5 separate regions of the Homo sapiens genome follow, and regions 1, 2, 3 and 4 are each linked to region 5. Evidence: promoter capture Hi-C in 16 types of primary human blood cells and fetal thymus (Javierre and others, 2016). All regions are on one chromosome and are shown on one strand. The core of a region is centred on a gene start or on the middle of the fragment in contact, and the rest is flanking DNA. Distances in the headings are between cores, read along the strand shown. Region 1 has its middle 15 kb from the start of TCF21. Region 2 has its middle 31 kb from the start of TBPL1. Region 3 overlaps TARID (TCF21 antisense RNA inducing promoter demethylation). Region 4 has its middle 14 kb from the start of TBPL1. Region 5 holds the start of STX7 (syntaxin 7).

Region 1 (2,700 bases), core at 78-2,577, 1.4 Mb after region 5:
CCCAAGGCTGAAATTGGACTCTGGCCATTTGGAGATGAGCTATATACGGTGGGCCATCATTCTGCTACATGGATATGGGCAGCCATCTTGTAAATATGTACTTTTGGTCCTAAGTGAAAAAATTTTTAAATATGATAGATGTGTTCACAGAAACTTACCTCCACTACTGGAAAATCAACTCAAAAACTATGAATGATAGACCATCAGAGTGATAGCTGAGCTAATTTTTCATTCCCCACCTCCCAAGGCCCTCTGCATCATCTTAGGGACCATCCCCTCAAACAGTTCATCAATTTTCCAAACCTTTTTGTCTCTAGAACCTGTCTTTTGCTTTTTCTTCTCTTTTGAATCTTATACATTAACTCATAAATTATATGATACTGAATTCCACTATCCTTCTCAATATTTCATATCAGGTACATTCAAATGTATTAGAATAAGTTTTTTAAAAAGTAATATTTCCTTTTTTGGGGGGGGGGGACGGGGTCTCACTTTGTCACCCAGGCTGGAGTGCAGTGGCGCGATCTTGGCTCCCTACAGCCTCTATGTCCTGGGCTCAAGCGATCCTCACACCTCAGCCACCCAAGTGGCTAGGACTACTGTGTGCTACCTTGCCTGGCTAATTTTTTAATATTATTTATAGAGACAGCGTTTCTCCATGTTACCCAGGCTGTTCTCAAACTCCTGAGCTCAAGCGATCAGCCCACCTTGGCCTCCCAAAGTGCTAGAATTACTGGCGTGACCCATAACACCAACCAAAAAGTGGTATTTTCAAAAGCTCATAGATAGACTTGAGCTTGGATGCTCTGCCATCTAGCTGCTCTGACCCCAAGCAAATCCTTTAATGGAAGCTGATCATAATCCCAAAAGACACAATCCCAAATGCTATAAACCTGAATGTTGGAATCCCAAAAGATCAGAATCTCAAAAATATAATTCTGAAAAAAAAATTTAATTTTTTAAAAGATTTTTATTTATACTTTAAAAAGGGGATTTACTTGAGAAGCATAAAAATGCAACAGAAGGCTTCATAGGCCACTTTACATAATAAAATAAGCCATAATAATGTATATATTTTTGCAAACATAGGCACTCAGGCATACTAGTGACAGTCACATGGACAAAACAGTTATGAGCAGACAAATTGTATTCACAAGGAAGTAGGTCAGAAAAGGAAATGGATCAATGCATATCACTATGGTTGGTAGTTGAGTGTACCCAACTTTATAACTCTGGCCATCTGAAATACCATGATGAACAACCATAACCTTCTGATAAGATCAATTGAAAACCTCAATGGGTCACCACCACATATACAGTTACCCTAAGAGCTGAGATCTTGAGAAATCTTACCTTTCACAAATGCAGATGTACAAAAGAACATCTATTCATTTATTGAAGAAGTTTTAACATTTTTATGTACATGCACAATGCTTACACACAAAGGCAACATTCTGATAATGCATCTTCATGGAGTCAAATTTGCAAAACATGCATAAAACAAATTAGAATGCTCTAAAAGTCTCTATACGATTTATACCTCCAATATTGGAAATGATGTGAAGATTAAATACATAGCGTGTAGAATTATAAGAAATAATGCTGACAATTTAAAATAGTGAAAATTTTTAAAAAAAGGAAAAGCAAATTTAAAAACTAAAAAGAAAATTCAGCATATAAACAAGTATAATATAGGGATAGATTTGGGCAATTTGCATGGAGATGGTTCATAAGAGCTTGTCAAATATAATCCAACTATCCTGTGATGGTGATGTTTGAGATTTTGGGATTTGGGGATTTTAGGATTTTTAGAGTTTGAGGATTTTGCTCTTTCAGGATTTCAACATTAACAATTATGGTGTTTAAAAATGTGTCTTTTGGTATTATAATCCAAACTGTCACTTAATCTCTCTGTGCCTTGGTTTCTTCACCAGTAAGATTTCTAAAGTTCCTTCTAACATTAAAAACAATTTTTTAAAAGTTACAACTCTAGAGAAGAATCCCAAGGTTTTTGAACCAGACTGTTATTTGGTCTGATAAATACCCCACCCGGTCTCAACTGTATGCTATAGGAAGTCTTAAAAACTAGTTAGGACCAATACCAAAAAGAGCATGAAATTGCTTCTAAGACTGTCTCTCTCTCATTAGAATGAGTTCCTTCTCCACATTCCATAATATTTAAAAAAAAATCCTGAAACGAATTATACATTCACATCTGTTTAGTTACTGTTATGACCCTAGGTCTGGGACCCATCTCAACTTTGCTTATGGCTGCATAAGCAAAATGGGGCTGAGAAGAGAAGGATGATGTCCCTCTGTGAGAAGAGAGCATGGTACTCCGAGAACTTGCTAAACCTTCAAAACATTTAATATTTTATCATATGTTATTTGTTCCATCTACAGTTTAGCTAACCATTCCATGATTTCCAGGTATTTAGGTTGTGTCTGATTTTGCAGTTTTGCTTGGAGCTGGGATGCCCATCTTAGATCCTTGTCTCCATCTTCCAGAAGTAGACTTCTGGGCCAAAGATCATGACCAGTTTTAGGATGTTGATACACATTTCTAAATTGCTTCTTATTTTATACCCCACCAGAAATCACTTAGTTCACTACTAGGACTCAATTTTTAATTTAACTTTTTTTTCCTCTTGCCATAGAGGGAAGTCTAACCATTCTGCAGGTTAAGAGAATGATTGACTG
Region 2 (2,700 bases), core at 177-2,676, 1.4 Mb after region 5:
TAGAAAAGTAAAATCCTGCTAGGAGGGGCACAGTGGATGAATTCGAAAGAGGAAACACTTCTCCTTACAGTGTCCCTCCAGCGCCCTCTACTGATAAAGTTTAGCATCGTGCCAGCTGCAAAGGAGAGATGCTGGTAGAGACTGGCTCCAGAACAGTGGGTTTCCAGCTGAACAGGCAACCAGGAGTGGATTTGGAGCTGAGAGACAACAAATTGATAACTGGAACACTGCCAAATCATTTCCTCCTATATTCTTCTTTTTCCATTCATAAGTCAAAATGGATTTGTTAGTCCATTCCCAAATTCCTAAATCCCAGGGTTTCTCTAGACACCACCATCAAAGAATTCCAAGGTAATAAAATAAACTTATTGAGGCTTGCTCTAGGATAGGTGTTTACATACATTATCTCCCTGCTGCAGTGGTAACATAGTGAGTGCTATACTTTTGGTAAGCTGTCTATAAGTACTTGCTACTACTCTTATTATTTATTTATTTTTAAGGAGTCTCACTCTGTCACCCAGGCTGGAGTGCAGCGGCGCAATCTCGGCTCACTGCAACCTCCGCCTCCCGGGTTCAAGCGATTCTTCTGCCTCAGCCTCACTAGTAGCTGGGATTACAGGCGTCCACTATCACTCCCGGCTAAGTTTTGTATTTTTAGTAGAGACGGAGTTTCACCATATTGGCCAGGCTAGTCTTGAACTCCTGACCTCGTGATTCGGCTGCCTCAGCCTCCTAAAATGCTGGGATTACAGGCATGAGCCACCGCGCCCGGCCGTTATTCTTACTTTACAATATGAGAAAACTGAAGTTCAAGAACTCACAACTAGTAAGTGATGAATCTAAAACTCTGAATGTAAGATCATTTGACTAGAATATTGGTGCTCTAGTCACTAACTCAGGACGAACTTTTCACAAAGGGACTAATTTTTTGATGTGATGTGCTAAGAAATTCCAAGTTCTAAGCTGAAAATGTGGTGCCTCAACTAAGGTCCTGCCTTTGAGAAATCCTGCAGGCATTCAACTATTGCTTTTTGGATGACACATATTTTTTGTAAATGTCTAAAAAATGCAATAGAAGTTAAGCTTTTCTCTTTAACTTTCATTGTGAGTGTGCTCAGAATCTAGCTGTATTCACATCTCTAGTTCTGGGTGATTCTATTAGCCTAGCATTTATGGAGTGCTGAGTAAATGCTAGACACTGTGCTAAGTGCTCTGCATGGCTTTACCTCTATAATCCTTGCCACAACCCAGAGGACAGGCTATTTTCCAGATGAGGAAACTGAAGACGGGAGGGGTTCAATAACTTCACCAAAGTCATCATCTAAGCGGTGACACTGGTATTTTAGTCCAAATAAGTCTTACTCCAGGACTCAACTTTTTTTTTCTTTTTTTAGACAGGGTCTCACTCTGACACCCAGGCTGGAGTACACGATCTCGGCTCACTGCAACCTCCACCCTCCTGGGTTCAAGTGATTCTCCTGCCTCAGACTCCCAAGTAGCTGGGATGATAGGCATATGCCATCACACCTGGGTAATTTTTGTAACTTTAGTAGAGACAGGGTTTCACCATGTTGGCCAGGCTGGTCTGGAACCCCTGACCCCAATTGATCCACCCTCCTTGGCCTCCCAAAGTGCTGGGATTACAGGCATGAGCCACCGCGCCTGGCCGGCTCAACATCTTGACCATGCCATGAGGCCAGGGCCCAATCTAGTCACCTTTTGCTTCCCCTCTGATGTACAGTTTTCTTTGTTTCCAATACTTTAGATATTTAAGCTTTAAAAATATAAAATGAGGCTAATATATTTTTCAGCTGCTTTCAATTAATAAAGGAAATTGCTCCTTTGAGATTATTAGGCTGTTTTAAGAATGTCAGGCAATTTTATAGGGAGCAGCCTATTTCTAATTCTTTTAGATTAGCAGAGGAAGAGCCGCTGATATGTTGCCCCCTGCCCGTTCTCACTGATTCTGGGTGAAGTAGTGCAGATATGTGGGTACATGCCATGAGCAATTTGTGATTGTCTAGGACAAGGATAGCAGCTGCTACAGTATTTTTGGTGGATTGATCTTTCATTGCCTTGCTTCTTACCCTGGGTCAGCTTGCTGGGAGCATCACATCTACAGAGTGGCTTTTATGAAACTCGAGCAGTGAGTTCACTTGTGCTTCCCTCTTATGTTTAACAAAAATATATCTCATGCCCATTTCTGTGACACTCAAACTAGAATACAACTTATGTAACTACTGAAAGCAAAACCTATTTAAATATTGACTTCTTAAATACTTGCTTCACTTAGCATTTTTTAAATTCGATTTAATTAAATAATCTCATGTATAGAATATGACTATCATGCCAAAGCTATCTGATGGTAAAAAAGATGGGAACACAAAAAAAAGAAGGTTAATAGTGTAATATCCCATAATATTGGTTTACTTAATTTGATTTTATAAAATAAAATTAAACATATGTAGGTCTACTTTTAGATAAAAAATATTCCTAAGGGCCTTCTATAGACCTCTCAATCCATGGACATCTGTCAATTATAAAATCTTCCTAAGTTTTAAGGCAGCTGCATGGCTAGGTCTAATGGCTGTCCAGGAGTTCCTGATGTACCATAAGGAGGATTTCAGAAACTTGTAGATCTCACCGAGTCATGACAGCAATTATAAACGGTTGACAATTACTGTTCTAATGAATGGACAT
Region 3 (2,700 bases), core at 79-2,578, 1.1 Mb after region 5:
TAGTTTCTAAGTGTTCTACAATGAGTAAGTTTCAGTTCCTTAAGATTATAATTTTTAGAATTTAATTCATAAAGCATCATTTTAATTATAAAAATAACTTTTGAATAATGTAAAATTCACAATTTAGGAATATATGAGTAACTAACAAGTATTATAAAAATGGAATAGTGCAAAGTCAAGTATAAAGAAGCTCTCAGATTTTAGTATGCCAAAAGATCCAAAATTATCTCATGCATTAAGTATTCCATAGCATTAAGCCTTAGAAAATCACTAGAATAATAATCCAGGCTTATAACTAAAATTCCACCAAGAGAGGATAGTTTATAATTCTTAATGAAACCAGTAACAAAATACAGTAACAACATAACAAATCCCAAAATAAATACAAATCTTTATCTAAATTAGCATTTTCTCTAACCATTTAACATACCTAGTCTAGATCAAAGACTCACAGCCTAAAGAGGGGTGGCAAAATTATTACAAATACTACAAATACATATGGTCATCTAACACTGTGTGTAATCTGAAAAATACCACACATATGCACTATTGTTTTCTAAATATATGTTGATGATATGGAGAATAGCAAAACACAATTATATTTAAAAGTTTTACCAAGTTCACATAGGTAATATATCTTCATGTTCCTAATCAATGTGTATTATGTGGGAATTCGGCTATGTTTTCAACACTGGATGTGTGCAACCTCTACAAAAAACAGTAAAAACCATATTTTGATACAATCCGGGAAATCAGTTATTAATTGAATATTATATGGGACCAAGAACAATTTTTAATTTTGTTAAGTGTTATGATGTCATTGTGGTTATGTTAAAACATTGTTATGTAGAGGTGAAATAATATAAGATTTGCTTTCAAATATTTCAGCAAAAAAAAAAGGAAAAAGTGATAGGCAAGCAAATATAAACTATTGATAGTTTTTGAATCTGAGTAATGGTTATATCAAGGTTATATGGTACTATTTACTCTACCTTATGAATGTTTATAATTGTTCTTTGATATTAGAAAACTTGAAACTGGGTCATTATACTGAAATCTTGGTGACTATTGAATTAGGTAACTTTTAAAAACATAGCAAATAATGTTTTAAGAAAAAGAAGTGGGAAAAACTGTTCAATATTTTTTTCTCAAAAGGGTTATCTCAATTTTTAAGGTACCTTTTAACCTGTTGGTAGCTCCTGTATTAATATCAAGATACAGTTCACATGACCAAGGAGCCAGGTTATCAAGAGTGTATATTCTACTCCTATACCTTGTGCATAGTCAATTTCTGGGCACAGAGCTAAACATTTCAAAACAGCAATAAAAGGAACAACCTTGGGTGATTCCTTTCATACTCCCCAAAGAAGATTAGGAAGGATAAGAATCATCACTAGGAAAGGGCTGAATGAGAATATATCTTATTCCTCAGGTATTAATAAAATATTGGTCTCAGAAACACAGGATTATAATTTTTGTAAGAAGTAAACCAACTTAGATAATTGTAACAAATCCCAGTAGGCAAAGGGTTTATAATTTTTGGAAGTAAAACTGCCCATTTAGAAAACTAGAATTGATTCTGTTCAAATAATTGTACCCACAGAGTAAGCACAGTCAACAAGTTTACCAAGATCAGACACCAGCACTCAGATAAACAATCTAAAAATATTCAATTCTGCTGGGGGATGGAGGGGAGAAGAAAGAAGCAAAGACAAAACTACAGGTATTTAATTTGAGTTTTACTATATTACAATTGTTACTTGTGCCTAATCAGAAATATATCTTGAGGTCTAAAAGTTTTAGAGTAATTATCATTTTTAAAATAAAAATGATAAAAATGGCTCTCCCAAAAAGCCATGAAGTGGCATCTATGATTTTCTACTTCACCCACCTAGATAACCCACCATCAGAAATCAGTCATCATTCTCACTGCTGACCACCAAACCTAGATTTTCCTCCAAAATATAGCACACCTGAGACTTATGGACAAAATGAACTTATAGCTTGAGTTACATGTTATAATATTCCAGGGTGCCTCTTTTTAATTCCATTTTGTATACTAAACTAAACACTATGGAACATTTTCCTAATTGGGGTATTGTTTCTTCTTATTTTTAATTTGTTTAAGCTCCTGACAGCCCATCTCAAACAGAAACTTAAAGGCTAGCCATGTAAGTGAATATAAATGAATTGACCTGGTCTCAGTTTATCTACAATTCATTTATTACAATGTACCTCAATCACTCATCAATTCATCCATTTACTCAGCAAAATATTGATAAATCACCTTTAAAAAACACCACAGGCACATCCTGTGCTAAGTACTAATAATACAAAAATAAATAAGAAGACATGGTCTCTGCTTTTAAGGGGCTCTAATAACAAATGAAAACAGTAGATACAAAAACAACTAACAAAACTCCAACAAGGGCTATAGTAGAGACATAAACAGAAGTGATTTCAGAGAACATAATGAGAATGTATTGTGAACTAGTTCATCTCAAATTAATTAAAATAATAATTGTAGGATTCTGGAATTGTGTATGGGTCTCCAAGCTACAAAGAGGGAGAGGATGTGCAGGTGGAGAAAAGCAGACTAATTTTCAAAATACTTTACTGCATCATTCAACCCAGTGTTCTGGGGATCTTTGGGCTCTGAACCAACTTGAATTGGGGATATGATTTTCATTTGCAGGATGT
Region 4 (2,700 bases), core at 135-2,634, 1.4 Mb after region 5:
TTGTAAGCTGCATATAGTTAGATTTTGTTTTTGTTTTGTTTTGTTTTTCTTTTTCTTTTTTTGAAATGGAATCTCACTCTGTCACCCAAGCTGGAGTGCTGTGGCTCCACTGCAACCTGGGTTCACTGCAACGTCCACCTCCCAGGTTCAAGTGATTCTGCTGCCTCAGCCTCCCAGGTAGCTGGGATTACAGATATGCGCCATCAAGCTCTGCTAATTTTTGTATTTCTAGTACAGATGTGGTTTCACCATGTTGGCCAAGCTGGTCTTGAACTCCTGACCTCAAGTGATCCACCCACCTCAGCCTCCCAAAGTGCTAGGATTACAGGCCTGAGCCACTGTGCCTGTCCTGTTTTGTTTTTCTTAATCAGTCAAGCTTGATAAGCTTGACTTTTAACTGGAGTATTTAGTTCATATACATTTAATGTAATTGTCTACATATTTGGGTTTTAATTTACCATCTTATGGTGTGCTATTTGTTCTACCTATTCAGTATATACTTTTCTCTTTTTTCTTGCTTCTTTCAACAAATTGTTTCTTATCATCCAATTTTTTCCCTTTACTGCTGGGAGATTGTGTAATTTGTTTCTATTCTTTTAGTAATTATCCTAGAATTACAACATGCATACTTAACCTTTACCCTTCATACAAGCTGCTTAGGATATTTGATTCCATTTGACCCTCTTCAACATATGTGATACTTGTAATTGCATTTTTTTCTATTTTTTAGATGCTATATTGTTGTTCTTTTACTCTTTCAGTGTATATTAACTTATTTATTCACCACTTTCTTTGTTCTTTATACCTTTTTATAGCTTACATTTTTTTTATCTGCCTAACGCACTTTTTTTATAACTTTCTTTAGTATGATTCTGCTTAGGAAAAACTACTAGTCTTCATTAGCCTGAAAATGTCTTTATTTCAGCCTCACTATTAAAATATTTTTCACTAGACATTAAGACTAGATAGTAATTTTCTCTCAGTAAGTGGAAGATCCCCCTCCATTGTCTTCTGATGTCTCTTGCTGCTGCTGAGCAGTCATGTCAGTTTCATATTTACTCCTTTGAAAGCAATTCATCACTTTTCTCTGATTGTTTTCACTATTTTCTTTTCTTTTTCTATTTTTTTTAGCTTTGCTCTTCAGCTGTTTCATTATGACAATTTTAGATATAGGTTTCTTCTTGTTTATTTTGCTTGAGACTCACTGGGTTGTCTTAACCTGTACATTAGTGTCTTTCATGTACATTAGTGTCTTTCATCACTTCCGTAAAATTCTCAGCCATTATCTCTTCAGATATTACCTTTGCCCCATTTCTCTCTCCTCTCCTTCCTAGATTCTGATGAGATGTATATTAATCTATTCTCCTCTGTTGTTTATTTCTTTTAATTCTTATTCTGTGTTTTCTTTTTGTCTCTCTGTTTCACTTTTAAATTATTGTTTTTCTGACCTAGCTCCTAGTTCACCAATTCTCTTTTCAACTGTATTTAGTCTGCCGTTAAAGTCATCAACTGGCTTTCAAGGTGGCCTAAAATGCATATTTACCTCCTTGCCCTTTCAAAATGCAATTAAATTGAAGAAATGTAAAAATAAAAATTATGTAAAAACATAAACATAAAAATTAATTCAGGCCAGGCATGGTGGCTTACACCTAGAGTCCCAGCACTTTGGGGGGCTGAGGTGGGTGGATCACCTGAGGTCAGGAGTTTGAGACCAGCCTAGCCAACATGGTGAAACCTCATCTCTACTAAAAATACAAAAAAAAAAAAAAAAATTAGCCAGGTGTGGTTGCGCATGCCTGTAATCCCAGTTACTTGGGAGACTGAGGCAGGAGAATCGCTTGAACCCAGGAGGTGGAGGTTGCAGTGAGCCAAGATTGTGCTATTGCACTCCAGCCTGGTGACAGAGTGAGACTCCGTCTCAAAGAAAAAAAAATTAATTCGTAGCAGCACTAAAAACCAGTATGGAGTGCCACCAGAAGACTAAAACAGTGGAGAATTTCTGAACCATATAAATTTATTTTATTCTTTGGTCCTTTTTTAAATATCTGCAACGTAATTTTTCCCGAAGATATTTCAAATTTATCTTTTATTTCATTAAATAATAACTATAGTTTTATTACCTGTTTTATAACCTGCTAAATCCAAATATTAAGTATTTGTGGTTCTATGGCCTTTGTTATTTCTGTTTGTTCTTGCTTATGTTGTCTTCTTTCCTCATGTGTCTGTTTAAACTTGACTACACATGTTCTGGTAATAGTACTTTAAAATGTATTTGTGGGAACTATCCTAGCCTAACAGGAATCCACCTTCCTATAGAGAGATATCTTTGTTTCTGCTAGGCACCTAAGGACACCATCAGTCTGAGACTACCTTAATCTAAGTTCAAAGCTTGAAATTCCCGGGACCGTCACCATGATGGAAACAACCAAAAGAGGATTTGTTTATTTCAGGTATATTCTTGCCCTAAGGACACAGCCCTTTCATTTCCTACCTCACTGTCAGGAGGATCTCCTTCCTGTTCAGCTTCCTGCTTTGTGCAATCCCTGGGCAATTGCCATACCTTTCACTCAGTGGGGACATCAAAACGAAAGTTCAAGTTGTCATTACCCCTACAAAGCATAAACACCTTCTACTGCTTATTTATCTCTCTTGGTTCTTTTTCGTTCCTAATTTTGGTCTTACAGTATCTTATTCTCTGTT
Region 5 (2,700 bases), core at 179-2,678:
TCATCACTGACCTTTTGTACTACTTGGTTTTAGTTCACAATACCGAGGATTGTTTTTTTCATACTTTCACACATGAAACTTGCAAATTAAATGGAATCACAGCAAACTTCACTCAGACTTACTGTGAATATTTTCTATAATTTACTTTTCAATCATCAGCACTTAAAGTTTGGGGTCATAACCAAAATAAGGATTGATTTTGTTATCAAGAGCAACATAAGTAACATATCTGAGGAAAAATTATGATGTTAATCAGTTAATATGGTATCATATTAACCTCTACAGAAACTGTGAAGTTAAGAGCATAATTCTTAACTAGTCACGAGTCTGAGGCCAACTTCTCAAAGTAGCCTATAAGGCCTGTCCACAACACAAAACACAGTTTAACACCGTTATCAGCCTCTGCCCAGGTGTGCTCAGAGAACCTGCAGAAGAAATGTCCACTTCCAACATTATTAAATAGCACAGCATTTCATAATTACTTTCTTTTCTTCCAGATTCTGGGCAAGTTTTATATATTATATATAATTATAGTCAGAATACAACGATCTGAGGTAAACAAAAATTAACGTATACAGATAAGAGCCAAACAAATGTAAGAAATTTGTGGGAAAAAACACACAGCATTTGATCAGAAATGCAACTTTTTTTCTTTGTCTGAATTTAAAGAAAGTAACTAGAAAACAAGGTGGAGGAAATACTAGAAATATTTTATGTACGTTTAAAGGTTTTTATGTAAATTAATTAAAGGTGTATACTCAAAGAATGTCAAAGTATGTTAAAGTCATCAAGCCAAATTAAAAAAACAATACTACGATCCTCTGAATAAATAAACATACACGGTTCGCCTGCTACAGCCATACATTTTTCAGTTCCTCTATATTCGGGAAGTTTAGTGTGTTTTTCAATCCGTGAGTTGAAAAGAGGAAGAGGTCATTTGGTCGTGTCTGGATTCCTGAGCTGGGCCCCAGCCGGCTCTGGCGCCCTCCCCGGGGTGCGCTCCGCCAGCCGTGCGCCTCCGGAGCTCTGCCCAGGGGACCGCGGCGGGTGCGTGGCTGGGTAGGCCCACCTGACCACAGCCGCGCGCACCCGGAATGCGGAACGCGCCGCGCCCTTGCACCCGGCCGGGGGGCGTGGGGAGCCGCAGGCGCTCCGGGAGCTGGGGCAGTCCCGCCCTTCCTAGCCTCCCGAGTGCCTGCTGCAGAGCGCAGGGCGGCGGCCACCTGACCACGCGCACAAACAAGAAGGCGCAGCAGCCGCAGGGGCACCGCGCCTCCCTGTCGCCCGGCCAGGGAGCCCCCTCCCCAGGGTCCTCTTACCTGGACCTCCACGGCTCCCTCCTACACCTCCGACCGCCGTCACCCACCTACCCCGGAGCCCTCAGCTGCAATTCTCAGCTGATGGGCGGTGGCGTGGGGACGCCCAGTGCGCATGCCCGCAGCACAACTCAGGAAGAAGGCGGGGTTCACCCCTTTTCTATTGGCCCGCGGGGCTGAGTGACAGCGGCCCTCACCGCCCCTCCGGTTCCAAGCTAAGGAATGGGGGTATCAGCAAAATTGCAAGGGAGCTGTTCTTTGAAGCCTGACGTAGAGATGGTGAACGCCTCTTAGCCTGCGTGCAAAAAAGGACAGAATGGAGGACAGTTGTCTTCTTTATCTGGTGAAGCCAGCCTTCTTGCACGCGGGTCTTCACCCCGCCCCATTAGCTCTTGCCTGTCTTGTTTGCTAACCTTTAACTGCAGTAGATCGCGTTGACAGCTCTATCGAAAAATGCAAAGGCGAGTACACAATCCTAGCAGGAACAATGAAGGAATAAGTGAAGAGTCATCTCTGGGTGCTCACTTGTAAACAAGTTTTCCTAGTACATACAAGTCATTCTAAGCATTCCTGAAAAGCAGGGCGTAGTTTTCACAGGGTTTAAAACAAGCAGAGACAGTTCCAATGATAAATATGCAAATATATTGTAATTGTTAGATGAAAAGCATCAATTGCTACAAATGAAAGAAAGCCCTCTCCAAATTAATTAGAAGATAGATTGGCTTAGCCTTTGCCTATATTAAGGCAACACTATTTTCTAAAATGATTACCCGGATAGGTGATATCAAAAGTCCAGACGCACTTAGGTGGAAAAAAACAAAACCCAGGATAGAATTCTGATTGGAACTCACCAACACTAAGTGTGGAATGTTGTCTGCTTAAGAGAGATGGACAGAGAAAGAATAACCCTGAAAACGAGTAACCCACAAGATAGGAAATAAACCAGGAAAAGGTAAACTAGAGAATGAAGGAAAAAAGGAGGGAATTGTCCATGATGTCACCTGTTACACAAAGTTCAAGTAAATAAAGAACTGAAAGTAGTGCATTGTACTTGAGAATTAGGAAGTGGCTGGTGAACGTAGGAAGAAACATTTCAATCATTGAAGGAACACATGAAAGGATCTTACATCCATGTGAGGTTTAGTGCACTTTCCAAATACCCATTCATATTACCTTTGATAGAACTCTGGGCTCCGGGGAGGGAAGGTACAATGCACTACAGAAGAACCTGAGATTAAGTGGCCTCTTCAAGTTACCCTGATAGTTACTGACTATGCTGGGCCCAAAACTTAGCTGTCTGAGCCCTCATCTTGGGCTCATTCCAATTCCTTGTTTTAAAATATGTTATGAGTGGATTCCTTCCAGGTCTTTTGAAAACTTAGAA

What was found. Contacts are between HindIII fragments. The CHiCAGO score rates a contact against its expected background, and 5 or more counts as called.
Region 1: a fragment that was not itself captured here is called in contact with the fragment with the promoter of STX7 in region 5 in 4 of 17 cell types (total CD4 T cells, neutrophils, naive CD8 T cells and 1 more); the score reaches 10.8 in total CD4 T cells.
Region 2: a contact is called between a fragment that was not itself captured here and the fragment with the promoter of STX7 in region 5, in 6 of 17 cell types (non-activated CD4 T cells, naive CD8 T cells, total CD4 T cells and 3 more). The highest score is 11.1, in non-activated CD4 T cells.
Region 3: a contact is called between a fragment that was not itself captured here and the fragment with the promoter of STX7 in region 5, in 1 of 17 cell types (naive CD8 T cells). The highest score is 5.0, in naive CD8 T cells.
Region 4: a fragment that was not itself captured here is called in contact with the fragment with the promoter of STX7 in region 5 in 7 of 17 cell types (total CD4 T cells, naive CD8 T cells, total CD8 T cells and 4 more); the score reaches 13.2 in total CD4 T cells.

What each region holds. Positions count from the first base shown.
Region 1 is chr6:133,902,440-133,905,139 of GRCh38, forward strand. No RefSeq gene overlaps it. Among named protein-coding and RNA genes, the nearest start is that of TCF21, 15 kb to the left of the region's middle. The HindIII fragment of the contact is 6,116 bases long and covers 1-2,700 here.
Region 2 is chr6:133,921,351-133,924,050 of GRCh38, forward strand. No RefSeq gene overlaps it. Among named protein-coding and RNA genes, the nearest start is that of TBPL1, 31 kb to the right of the region's middle. The HindIII fragment of the contact is 691 bases long and covers 1,082-1,772 here.
Region 3 is chr6:133,564,573-133,567,272 of GRCh38, forward strand. All of the region lies in intron 5 of TARID (TCF21 antisense RNA inducing promoter demethylation), which reads right to left. Among named protein-coding and RNA genes, the nearest start is that of EYA4-AS2, 110 kb to the left of the region's middle. The HindIII fragment of the contact is 6,853 bases long and covers 1-2,700 here.
Region 4 is chr6:133,937,492-133,940,191 of GRCh38, forward strand. No RefSeq gene overlaps it. Among named protein-coding and RNA genes, the nearest start is that of TBPL1, 14 kb to the right of the region's middle. The HindIII fragment of the contact is 2,003 bases long and covers 384-2,386 here.
Region 5 is chr6:132,511,688-132,514,387 of GRCh38, forward strand. STX7 (syntaxin 7) reads right to left here and starts at 1,429. Exons shown (of 10, transcript NM_003569.3): 1 at 1,320-1,429. RefSeq lists enhancers at 677-1,178, 1,536-1,735 and a silencer at 896-1,385. The HindIII fragment of the contact is 4,830 bases long and covers 1-2,700 here.